Regions from separate parts of the Homo sapiens genome. Here region 2 is linked to region 1. Evidence: promoter capture Hi-C in 16 types of primary human blood cells and fetal thymus (Javierre and others, 2016). All regions are on one chromosome and are shown on one strand. The core of a region is centred on a gene start or on the middle of the fragment in contact, and the rest is flanking DNA. Distances in the headings are between cores, read along the strand shown. Region 1 holds the start of ZNF366 (zinc finger protein 366). Region 2 overlaps TNPO1-DT (TNPO1 divergent transcript).

Evidence for each region. The method cuts DNA at HindIII sites, captures the fragments that hold promoters and counts their contacts. A CHiCAGO score of 5 or more calls a contact.
Region 2: a fragment that was not itself captured here is called in contact with the fragment with the promoter of ZNF366 in region 1 in 2 of 17 cell types (M2 macrophages and M1 macrophages); the score reaches 6.9 in M2 macrophages.

The regions. Positions count from the first base shown.
Region 1 is chr5:72,504,264-72,510,235 of GRCh38, reverse strand. It overlaps ZNF366 (zinc finger protein 366), which reads left to right and starts at 2,826. Exons shown (of 5, transcript NM_152625.3): 1 at 2,826-2,985. The HindIII fragment of the contact is 5,585 bases long and covers 1,902-5,972 here.
Region 2 is chr5:72,595,824-72,601,888 of GRCh38, reverse strand. The region is part of intron 7 of TNPO1-DT (TNPO1 divergent transcript); the gene reads left to right. Among named protein-coding and RNA genes, the nearest start is that of ZNF366, 91 kb to the right of the region's middle. RefSeq lists an enhancer at 3,461-3,560. The HindIII fragment of the contact is 967 bases long and covers 2,202-3,168 here.

The sequences.
Region 1 (5,972 bases), core at 1,577-4,076:
TCTGGGAGTCAACAGATAACCCCAGAGTCTGTGTCATTGGAAGCTGGTGCCATACAAATTAGGACGCTTCAGAGGCAGGACGCCATTTTGAGTAGAGCACCTATTTCTGTGGTGCTGGTTCTGAGGGTTAGGGTCACAGCACTGTCCTCACCTAGGTTTCTCTCCTGTCCTCCTATCTCGTCCCAGGGGTGGGCAGCTCCTCTCTCTACTCAAGTGATCTCTATGATACGCTGTGCAACATGGGGCTTTCCTGAGGGGTGAGAGCCAAGGCCATATGCCATTCCTGCTCATGCGTCTCAGTTGGATCCTTCACTTTTAGTCAGGATCCAGATAGGCCAGGACAGAGTTAGAGCTCCAGTGGACTGATCAGAAATCTGTCCTGCCAAACCTAATGGGAGGGTTAGGAATTTCTGCTCCTGACACCCAGTGGGTGGTTTCACAAGTTTTAGAGGGTGACTGTTCAGGTGACTGGCAGCACAAGGAAAGAGGGAAAAGCCTTTTCTGTGAATTTCACAGGCAGGGTTGCAACGCGGTGTGAGCATGGAGCAGCTTGGCACAAGGCAGCCTTGAGAGTCCCCTGGCTGGCTGCGGGGATGATGTCAGATCCCGACTGGATGCTGCCCCATTCAGTCAAAGCCGTGCAGCCTGAAATGGCACATGTCCCCATCCAGGCTGTCTGGGCGGGTCAGCTGGCCTGGAGACAACAACACAGCCTCAACGTGACAGTCCCCACATTCTGCAGACTTAAAAGGGAAATCCTTTGGATTCTGCCTGGACTCCTGGGGCTCAGCCCTGGCCTTGCCTTGAGGGTGCAAAGAGGAGTAAAAATATGGGAAGGCCTGTGTGCAGCTGCAATGGATTCTTCAAGTGATCAGAGGCGGTTTCCTGCCTGTGAGGAGTTGGTACCATGAGCGTCTTGTTCCTTGGGTCCCTCCTTTCCTCTGCTGCTGATGCCCCGCACACCTTGCCCCCTCCCTATTGCTTCTCCTCACCCCACCTCACTCCCAAGGACGTCTGCTTTTTTATTGTGAATTTCAGCTGCCTGCTTGTTTCACCTCCGGTTACTCAAAGGTTTGCCCCAGTGTTTCTCCCCCTTTAAAAGACTCCATTCCTAGGCCTTCCTGCTCCATTCCCTCATGCCCTTCCCTGGCTTTCTCAGATTTTCATTTTCATTTCCCTTCCCATTTCTACAAAGGCAGGATGTAGAGGAAGGCCAGCAGAGGGCAAAGAGCCCGAGAGCCGGGATCAGGAGACAGGAACGTGTTGGCGTGTGGCTCTAAGCGAACCAAAGAGACTGTCTCTGGTCATCCGTGTTCCCCACTGTTGGTGAGGCTGGGTCACCCAGGCCAGAACTCAGTGCCATGGGTTGTGCCAGTGTTGGTGCTGTGGCGGATGCAAGGAATGGGACTCTGCTCTGGCTTGTGCACACCTACCGAGTAACAAAATCTTCATGTCTCTCTCTGATACATGCACACATATTCAGATAACTAGATAGACAGGGAGATAGATAGATATATGGATAGATTAGATAGATAGATGATAGATAGATAGATAGATAGATAGATGATAGATAGACAGATAGATGATAGAAAAATATCTGTCAGAATAAAAACATAATCCTATAGGCCAATAAGGACTCAATCAAAATCTTACAGGGTCACTGAATCAGAATCATTCTTCCCCTGAACTCACTTTCATGACTCTTTGCAATCAGGTGTATCTGTCCACCCCATTTTTTTCACAGTTGGGTGAAATGAGGAAGTAGTGTAAGGCTGGTTTTTCTTTTGCTGCCACAAAGGTCTACATAACTGCTGGTTCCTGTTCACAGTGAAAATGGTCCTAACCAGATGAATAAGGGACACAAGAGACATAACACAAATCAGAGAAGTTAAAACCAAGCTTATTCCTAAGTGCAACTAGCCTAAGCAAGCTCATGCCTGCCTGCTGAAGCCCCAAGTCTTCTACCTTGATAAAGGTTACTCCCTCCATTTTAACTGCTCCTGCCTCCCCTATCTTTTTTCGAACACCATGGCTGATTTATCTAAACCCTATGCTGCTTCACAGTATTTTGAAAACAAATTAGAAATCTCCTTCCAGTTTTCCAGAGGTGATTAAATCCAAGACGCCTTAGGAATGTAGAGGATAGAATAATATAAACAACAGATCTGAGATAACCATGGCCGGCAGCAGTTGTGGTTAGTTGCTTCTTTTCCTTTTTCATCCATCAGTGATGGAAGCTGGATTGGGTCCACTGTATAAAGTTCGGTGGGCATAAATCTGCTATTTGATCCTGGAAAAACTCTAAGGATCTAGAGTCAGCGAGGAATTGCAGCAATGCTGGTGTTTCAAAGGGCCTAAGAAAAGCCAGGAGTCCTGGCTGCCCAGCCCCGACACTGTCTTACAGGCTGCAGGTTTACCTTGGTTAGCACAACAGGCCAAGCTCTCCCTTGCTCTAAGTCGACATGACATGATTTGTTCCCTTTCGGCTGTGTCAGTTCTGCAAACCAGATACCAGAGGCTGCAGGCTCAGGAGAGCCTGCCTGTCTGGAACACCGTTTGTTTGGACAGGACAGGCCACTAAGGCGTTTCATCTCTTTAAAGCTCCCAGGGCAGAGAACATATTTGAGGAATTCCTTTTTTCAAAGATTTTTTTTTTTTGCCCCTTCCAACATTTTGTTTAAGAGAAAATGAGATGTCTATCTTCTGTTTCCTTATTTTTTTTCAGGAAAGCAAAGGGTTGTTGACTTCCTCCCTCTCCCCTCCCTTCCTTCCTTCTTCCCGAAGGTACTCATCTGAGAAAAAGAGAACGAAGTATTGTTCCTGTTCTCTTTCTTAAGTCATTCGAAACACTGTCCCTGCGAGTTCTTTAAGTTCCCTGCAATCTGTACACAAGAGAAAGAGGGAGAGAGAGAGGGAGAGAGACAGAGAGAGCAGGGATCAGGTAAAGGAGTGGGGCTGCTGCAGCCATTCAGACCTCAGGAGCTGGTAAGTTACCCATGCAATCATTTCTGCTTCCTTTTCAAGGTTCCTGGGTGGATACTGCTGTGGGCATCTTCAACAGAAAATACCTTACTGGGAGTAGTCCTTAACCAAAGGGTATAAGTGATAGATGGCCCAGAATTTCAGCTAATACTTTTTTTTGGTAAGAGAATACTGATGCTTTGCAGAACTAAGGCTGGCAAAACTAGAAATAGAATTACATTGGGACTAAAGAGGACACTGCGTTAAATCTGAATTTTGGCACAGATCATGTGGCTGGGAGAACCAGGAGCCACTGGCGTGTGAGATGTGTCCCACTGGAGAATTTGCTCTTCCTCAGTACTGTGTCCTGGGAGCCTTATCAGGGTGTCTGTTAAGGACTGTGGTTTGCTCTGGGGTTTTTGTTAATACGTTACCTGGATTGAGGTGCCCTTCTCCTGTTCTTTTCTTTCCATTCAGCATCCCCCTAAAGGAGGATTGTTAATTGTTATATGATGGTTATTCTGCATCACTGAAGTAGAAGGGAAAGAGAGAAGGGAATGTCACTTGGAAATAGTTCTGCATGTGGGGAGCTTATGTGTTCAGGTTCCCCATGCGGGTTGAGTGTAAATTTATTATTCACTGTCAGTGGAAGATGTCATCTGCCACATGATAGAAGGCAAAGGTTTTGGGGCATATAGCTTTAGTTTTGGAAAACAATATGCAGCTAGAATGGGAGGATTAAGATGGATCATTTATGTCAGTAGGAGGGAAAAACTAAGTTACAGACGCAATTGAAAAGCATTCACCCAGTGCCTGGTTTTCCAAGCACCAAATAGGGCGTAGCAAGCTAGTCAAGCTAACATACACAACTAGTTTTTAAAAGTCTAACTTGCTTCAATTAGATTAGTCATAAAGGATAATGTTACCAGCACCTATCATCGCAAGCCATGAGGGAGCCGAAATCATGTTGTCAAAAATAGGTCAGCAAGGTCACTCCGAGAGACTCGTTATGTTTCCCAATATTAATACTTTAATTCAGAGAGATGCCGAATGGGTAAAAGCCAATGGCCAAGCATACTTTTTAAAAATATTCACTGCTATGAAATTTACTGATTGAAATCACCTGGGATGTGAAGAATAAGATAAAAATAGCTGGACTCTCATTTTAAAAATTAATTTGGCTAGACTATGCTTTAACCACATTCAAGTAATTAATCTTTATTCAAAATTGAACCATCATCTTACTAAGGATGAGAAAACATGACAGAACTAGACTGTGATGTAGCTTTTGTTCCATTAGTCAGACCTCTTTTTTCTTCTCCTTTTTTCAAGGATTTTCTTTAGGAGCATCATAAAACGAGCAATGTAAAGAGACGTGAATAGCGTTTGCCAGCTTGCGGATGCAAAATTATTCTAATAACAATTGAAAGTGTTTTACTGCTACCCTACCACCTCCCCTAACTACTCCATTTCCATAGATCTTCAGATCAAGAGGTAGCTGGAATAGATTGTCGAGGGCATTATTGCATCATTTATCAGCAACTGTGGCCCCAGAAGAAAACGCAGGTCTGCGATCTTGACTTGCTCCTTTCAGTTTCATTTCTCTTGATAATGTATTGAATTTTGTGCTCAACTAAAACAACATCACAGAACACATTCTAGTTTTGTTTACTGAGTAAAAGCATCAGATGCAACACAATAGGAAACAAATGACAGCAGAGTCATTTGTTAAAGACAAGGAAGGCAATTAAATTAAAGACAAGGAAAGCACAAGGTGGGTAGGCCAGTGGCTCAGAAAACAGCCCCACTGCTAGCATGACTATGGCTTGAGATTAAGAAGCTGAGGATATGCAGTTTTCTTTTAAAGAAAAAAGTGTATTCAATATTTCCATTTAAGTTGTTAAGTCATTGCTGTGAAAATATTTCTTGGATACTGGGGGAAATGAATTTTAGCTACCCGAAGAATAAAAGCCATCGACTAGTTTCATCGAAGTCACTACCACTCAATCTATCTTTACTCACTCACCGCCAAAGAGTGAGTTGGCATTTGTGGAAACTTCCAGTGTGTGATTATTTGGGGGTCATCAGAGGCTCTTTTGTGATATCATTGGGGGAATTCCAGTTTGAAGTGATCCAGAATTTGAGACACACAGTATTTTATTCGTTAATTTCTGCCAAAACTGTACACATAACTAAATTACAATTTCTTATACACATTTTAAATTATGTTAGGATGTGTGTCCTGTAGATCTGTGTGCTGGGATGTGAGTCAAATTAGAGTGAGTAGAGCACAGTCTCTGTTGTTGTACTACTTTTGGTTTGAATTTCAGCTTCGTTGCCTACTGTTTATGGGCCTCGGGGCAGGTACTTAACTGCTCTAAATCTCAGTGTCCCCAAATGTAAAATTGCGTCAACATAATGGAGTTGTGAGAATTAAATACAACTATCGGCATAAAACACTTAACATAATGTTTGGCAAGTAGTAGGAGTCAATCAGTGTCAGTTATATATTTTTTAAGGGTCATATATTAACACTGAAGAGTACTGTATTTTGTTAATACAGAGAACAGAATGAGTCTCCTATAATTTGTGTCATTATTCTTGCTTAATACTATACCAAGGATCTATCAGAGCAGATATTATTCCTCACAGCTTTAGAGTTGGGCACACACTGAGTGAAGATATTCTAAATTCTAAATTCTTATAAAATAAAAGAGTGTAGAGTTTAATGTATTGATATTCATCTTCACGAATGGCAGAAATGGCAGATTTAGCTTCACTGAATGCAGCTGTATTCAACACAGCTCAATGCAGGGGAAAGTTTGTCTCGGGATAAAAGTTTTCAACTTAGATGAACGTGCAAAGAGAGTTCAGTTATATTGTGGACATTTTATTCTCCCTTTCACCCACTTCCCCAACTGCTTGAGCTCTGTGTTATTGGTGACCTTTTCCCTGGTTGTGGAGGGCTGGAGACACTTTTTTTGGAGACCATCGTGGTTGTACCATGACTC
Region 2 (6,065 bases), core at 1,436-3,935, 92 kb before region 1:
ATCATTTGACAGGGGCTGTGGGGGAGAGAGAAATGGGAAGTGCCTGCTAAATGGGCCCAGGGTTTCTTTTGGGAGTGATAAAACGTTCTGGAGCTGCTAGGTAGTAGTGATGGTTGACAATATTATGAATAGACTAAAAACCACTTAATTGTATTAATACACTTTAAAATGGTTAAATGGTGAATTTTATGTTATATGACTTTTATCTCCATTAAGAAAACGAGAAGTTTAAACTTAAATGTCTCAAAGATTTCTTAAAGCTCTAAGACTCGGTGATTTAATGACACCTTTCTAATACACAGTAAATGATCATTAAACGTGTGATGAATTGAATGGAAAGAAATGTTGCAATATAACTCAGACTATAGACAATACTTTCCTAATTGTAAAGGTAGCTGGATCAGATGACATCTTCAGGGTCCTGATATGGTATAACCTGTAGGAAAGAATCATCTTTAAATTAATGCATTTCACCAAATGTGTGCTGGTAAAGGCTTAACAACCAGTTCTCCAAGAAAAAAATAAAATATGCAATATATATGTATGCACATTTATTATAAATTTTTGCATCACCTCCCTGCAAAAATACTTGCACTCGAATCCTTCTCTCTGGATCTCCTGGGGAATGCAAACTGAAATATCTGTGTAATCTATTTCCTGCATTAAATCTTCTCTACTTTTGTACTTGTATAGTTTCTATTTTCCTGTTTAGACTCCAACTGCTGCCTCTCCACTGTGACACGGATCCCTGCCATAGCCCTACCTTTCTACCTTGCTAGGAAGGAGAAGGAGTCCTGCCAGGCCACTGTTCCTCACAGCAGCCTGAAATATAGGTCTGAATATATATAAACGATATAAATTAAGAACCTATAGGAGGCAGAGAATCCCCATTATCATTATGCATGGCATCATTGAACCACTCCTCAAGGTCTGGAAAGTGTTTGAATCCAGCCTGTTTGATTTCAAATTCTCTCAGATACTGTTCTATGGTGACTCATGCTTGGGCAAGTCTCAATGTTCTAGTCTTTTCCTTCTCAGGATTAAAAGGGCCCATTCTAGCTGTCTGCTACATGGTGCATCTGCAAAATAGGGAGCTGCAAAGGAGCTTTCTAGTGGGTTTGCTCAGTGCTGGATTACTTGGATGGGTGGGCTACTCAGGAGTTTATTGCACCAAACGAAAAAGCGTTGGAGGGGAACTTATGTTTGATATTTCAAAACTAGCATTAACACAGTCATGAGAAAAAAATGCCACAGAATTTTGTTGCATTTCATCACAAGTTTTATGACTTGTGCTTTGTCATAAAACAAACTTATTTTATGGCTTGGGGTTGTGCTTGTTTTACATGACATCTGTGCACAGTGTTGCATGACTATCGGATAGACACACAGCCCTATGTGACTAATGCCCCTGTGGTTGTGTGATGCAGCAGCCCTGGGAGAAGGAGGCATGAGAATAATTTTGATGCTGGTGGCTTCCATACATTTCAATATGCTCTTGGGTCTTTAATATACAGGGGAACTAGAAATCAAGAAGTTATGTGACTGCATGACATCTGGCTCTTAGGAGGTCAAAGGACGTAAATATCCAAAACAACAACAGCCAAAACCCAAGGTGTCTGTTAAGGGAAGCAGGCTTAGTGGGAAGTGCCCAGGAAAATCTCCTTGGAGGGTTTGTTCCTCAGGGAAGAGAGTAAGAGAGGAGAGAGAGCCCTTGGCTCGCATAGCTAATTGCAAGCAGGAGGAAGCGGAAAAAGAACATGATTAGCATGTTTCTCTCCTTCCCTCTATAAAGATGACAGAAGCAGGCAATCTGCTGTTTGTGCAGAAGGGGCATAGGGAAGGAGAGAAGAGAGCATCTGTTCTGAGAAACTGCTGTTTAAAAATGCAAGAAGAACACAAAGCAAAGGAGGAAATCTCCATTGTACAGGCCACTGGCTCTGAAAACCATGAGAACTGGAGAGGTACCTGCCGAGAAAGCCTCAGGTTGCCCTGACTCTGGATCTGGCACCTGGGCTCAGAAGCCCTGTTGGGGGCCTTCTTCTCTGCCCTTCAGAGCTGAGGCTTTCAGTTGTGGTCCCTGGCTGTGACCTCCAACTAAGGAACAGCCTTCCTAAGGACAGACATGCCACCCACGTCTGCAGTCAGCCATCCTCACCCTTACTGACCAGGGCTGTCAATTTTTAAAGTGAGTTAGCAAAGCTTCCTGGCCAGAGAGTGAGTCACAGTCTCTACCCTCACACCTCCTCCTCTGTTCTCTGTCCAAGAATTGATGCTAATTATTTTTGTGGAAAATAAGGAGAGCCAATGTCTCCAATGGATGATGTAACTGGGAATCCCAAAGTTTGAAGGCCTCCATGCTTCTGGAAGAATCAGGGAATGCCTTCGAAGGAGCCAGCAGAATGACCTCTCAGCCAAGCCAAATATCTGATGTCCTGAGGGTTGGTCTTGGCCTCTAGAGCCTCCCTCTCTTGTGGGAAGTATCAGGAGCAAGGTCCCCTATCACATACCTCTAGCTGCCTTTGATAGGCAAATCCACCTACTCAAAGGCCATTCATCAGAAGGGATGTAGTGTGACCCCAGATTCTGTAGGTACTTTTCTATTTATATTCTACCTCAGTTTATTTGTAGACTGAACTGGATCGTAAACATGTGTGGGTGGCAGCCATCCTTGCATTCCTGGTGTTGATGAGCTCGATGCTATTCTAATAGTAGGTACTTAATAGTTATTTAAGTTTGTGAATAATTGGCCCTCAGATCTTGCACCTCTATCAGTTAAAATGAGAGAAGAGAGAAAGAGACCCCCCCATATTGTTCTATATTGTTTTATACTCAGTACCTGTTTTAAGAAGAAACAAGGAAGTGAAACCAAAAGCAGGCAGCCCGGCACCAGGCACCAGACCCAAAACCAGACCCAAAACCAGGCCTTGGCCTGCCTGACTTTACCTGATAGTTAAAATTCAACCCGTGACCTAGCAACCAATCTTATCCATAGATTCCAGACATTGTATGGAAGGACATTGTGAAACTTCCTGTTCTGTTCTGTTTCACTCTGACTACCAGTACATGAAGCCTCTGTCACATACCCCCTAGATTGCTCAATCAATCACAGCCCTTTCATGTAAAATCTTTAGTGTTGTGAAGGGACAGAAATTGTGCACTCGAGAAGCTTGGATTTTGAGACGTTAGTCTGCTGATGCTTCCAGCTGATTAAAGCCACTTCCTTCACTACCTCAGTGTCTGTGGGGTTTTGTCCACAGCTCATCCTGCTACAAAAATAAACCAGCCTTGCAAATAAGAACAGAAATCTGAACAATCTTCTTTCCTGATGATATGGTTTGGCTGTGTTCCCACCCAAATCTCATCTTGAATTGTAATCCCCATAATCCTCACGTGTCATGGGAGGGACCCCATGGGAGGTAACTGAATCATGGGGGTGGTTTCCCCCATGCTGTTCTCATGAAAGTGAGTGAGTTCTCATGAGATCTGATGGTTTTATAAGCATATGGCATTTCCCCTACTGGCACTCATTCTCTCTCCTGCTACCTTGTGAAGAGGTGCCTTCCACCATGATTGTAAGTTTCCTGAGGCTTCCCCAGTCATGTGGAACTGTGAGTCAATTAAACCTGTTTTCTTTATAAATTACCCAGTCTCAGGTATTTCTTCATAGCAGCATGAGAACAGACTAATACACCTGAGTCCCAGGGGTCTTTATCCCGCTACTTACTGGAAGAAAGGATCACTTTCAAATCTATTTTCTCATAGTAAAGTGGGAGTAATAACAGAACCTTCCACAGGATTTAATGAGGGCAGGCATATAAAACAGCACAATATCTAATGCTAGCTGTTTTATCATCACTGTCATCATCATTTTTCAGATTGTTATTTCTAAGATGAAGCATATTTTCTCCAGGGATTCTGTGAGCAGGGTGGGCACCCTCTGACTCTCCCCTTTGAAAGAGAATCATAGAAACATGGATGACAGATAAGAAACCTAGCAACAGTCACGCTGATATTCTATCAGCTCCCTGGCAGCCATTTCTCCATGACTAAGCACTTGCATTCCTTAGCCTGTCTGCAAATCCAGTGATATCCACAGACACATATCTTTCCTTCTCCTGTTACTGAGGCCAAGCATTGCCATTTCCTTGAGATAAGTACTGCCTGTAGCCCTGCCGTGGGTGTGAAGGGATACTTTCATCTGGTTTCGGCTTGCTTTTAGGTCAAGACAATTTATCCTCAGGCTTCAGGCTCTGAGGAAATTATTGGCAGTTGTAAAGAAAAGATGTATTGGTATACCTGTGCTCTGTGACAGCCCCCACAATAAGCCCTGTGCTCCTTCTCACCCACAAAGTCCAAGGAGGCACGTGGTTAGCTAGGATGATTGACGGGTTTATGACCTGCCTTGCAAGAAAGCCTGTCACTGAATCACATTTTAATATTGTATCCTAGTCTTTTAAAATCAGGGGTTAATATAATAACAGACATTTAAAGAATGTTTATGTGTCTTCAATACAACCATCACAGAACACATTATTATTATTTGCTGGTGCTGATACTCTCAGTCCTAGTGCTAGTAACGATATTTTAAATTTGTAATGTGTTCATTACGTTACAAGTCACATTACAGATGGTGAAATGAGATGAGAAAGGTGAAGTGATGGTGTAGGTGGGGCTCAGGCCCAGTGCCATGGGTATCTGTGCTCCAGAACCTGCCCTCCCTTTGTACCACATTGGCTAATGTGCTGCGCTGGTATAGTGAATCACACAATAAAGTCCTCTAAGAATAAAGACCAGAAAAAAACACTTTCATTGCCTGCTTTCTTGTATCAGATAATGTTTTACTTTGGCTTCAGAGTGTCAGTGAGTTCAGAAGCAAATGCCAAGGTCAACAAACCATATCAGCCTAGGCTTCTGGAATTCAAATGTCCCCATCCATTTCTATTTCACTTGATTTTTAAATTTCCATTTTAATGGTTTTATTGTTTGTGCTTTTTATTTTACCACTTCAGTCATTTGGGAAGTAAAAAGGGAATACACATGCTAAGAAAGACAAATCCATCCGTCAGTTATTTCAGTTTGACTCAGTAGGAAAAAGGATCATAGAACTTTCCTTTTGTGCCAGATGTTTTGTTGCTCTGCTTTCTTGGGAAATGTCTATTCAGGGTAAGGTTGCCAGATAAAATATAGGGCACCCAGATAAATTTAAATTTTAGACAAATAATGAGTAGTTTTTCTATAAATATGTCCCAAATATTGCATGTTAATTTTTATACTAAAAATTATTTATTGCTTATCTGAAATTAAATATAACTGGAGGTCCTGTATTGGATCTACTAAATCTGGCAATCCTTATTCAGAGCCACAAAGATCCTAGACGTGTAACTTGTTTTTGCACCTAGGCACAGAATCTGGCTAAGGATCAAGGTGCAAAATTGAAACAAGTTTATAATAACAGTTAAAACCATGAAGATGAGCTGGGCCTGTTTAAAGACAAATTTTGAACATCTGGCCTTTGGAAACCATTAGGTTCACTGGCTGGAAGTTCATTGCCTAAGGCCAGAGGTGGTACACTCTACCAGGATAGGATCTGATTTTTAGCTTGAGATCCTTGAAGACCACCTGTACCTGCCTGTGGTTTCCCAGAGGCTGGCAAGCAGAACTTGACTGTGCCTGCCTCTCCAGAACGAATGTTTTGCCCAGTTTTCCCAACCTTTTTTTAAATTGCATTTTTAACTCCCATTTTCCCATATGTCACATTAGCTTTGATGATTTCACTGATTCCTTGAATCCTGCTTCCTCACTCCCACCTCCATGTAAAGGAGGCAAAATTCTTTCTCTGTCCCAATCAAAAATATCTGCCAATTACTTGTGGGATCCTGAGGGTATTGTATTGGAACACCCAGTGTCTTCTCATGGTCTCCTTCCCAGTCCCCTCATCGTTGTCTGTGCTCTCAGTTAAATGAGGGGGCCTGGCTGCTGGAACACGTCCAGTGAGCCACCAAGTGGGTGTGGCTGCTGGCCTCCTCTCCCATGGACCCCCAAGCCTGCAGATCCCTACATCTCCT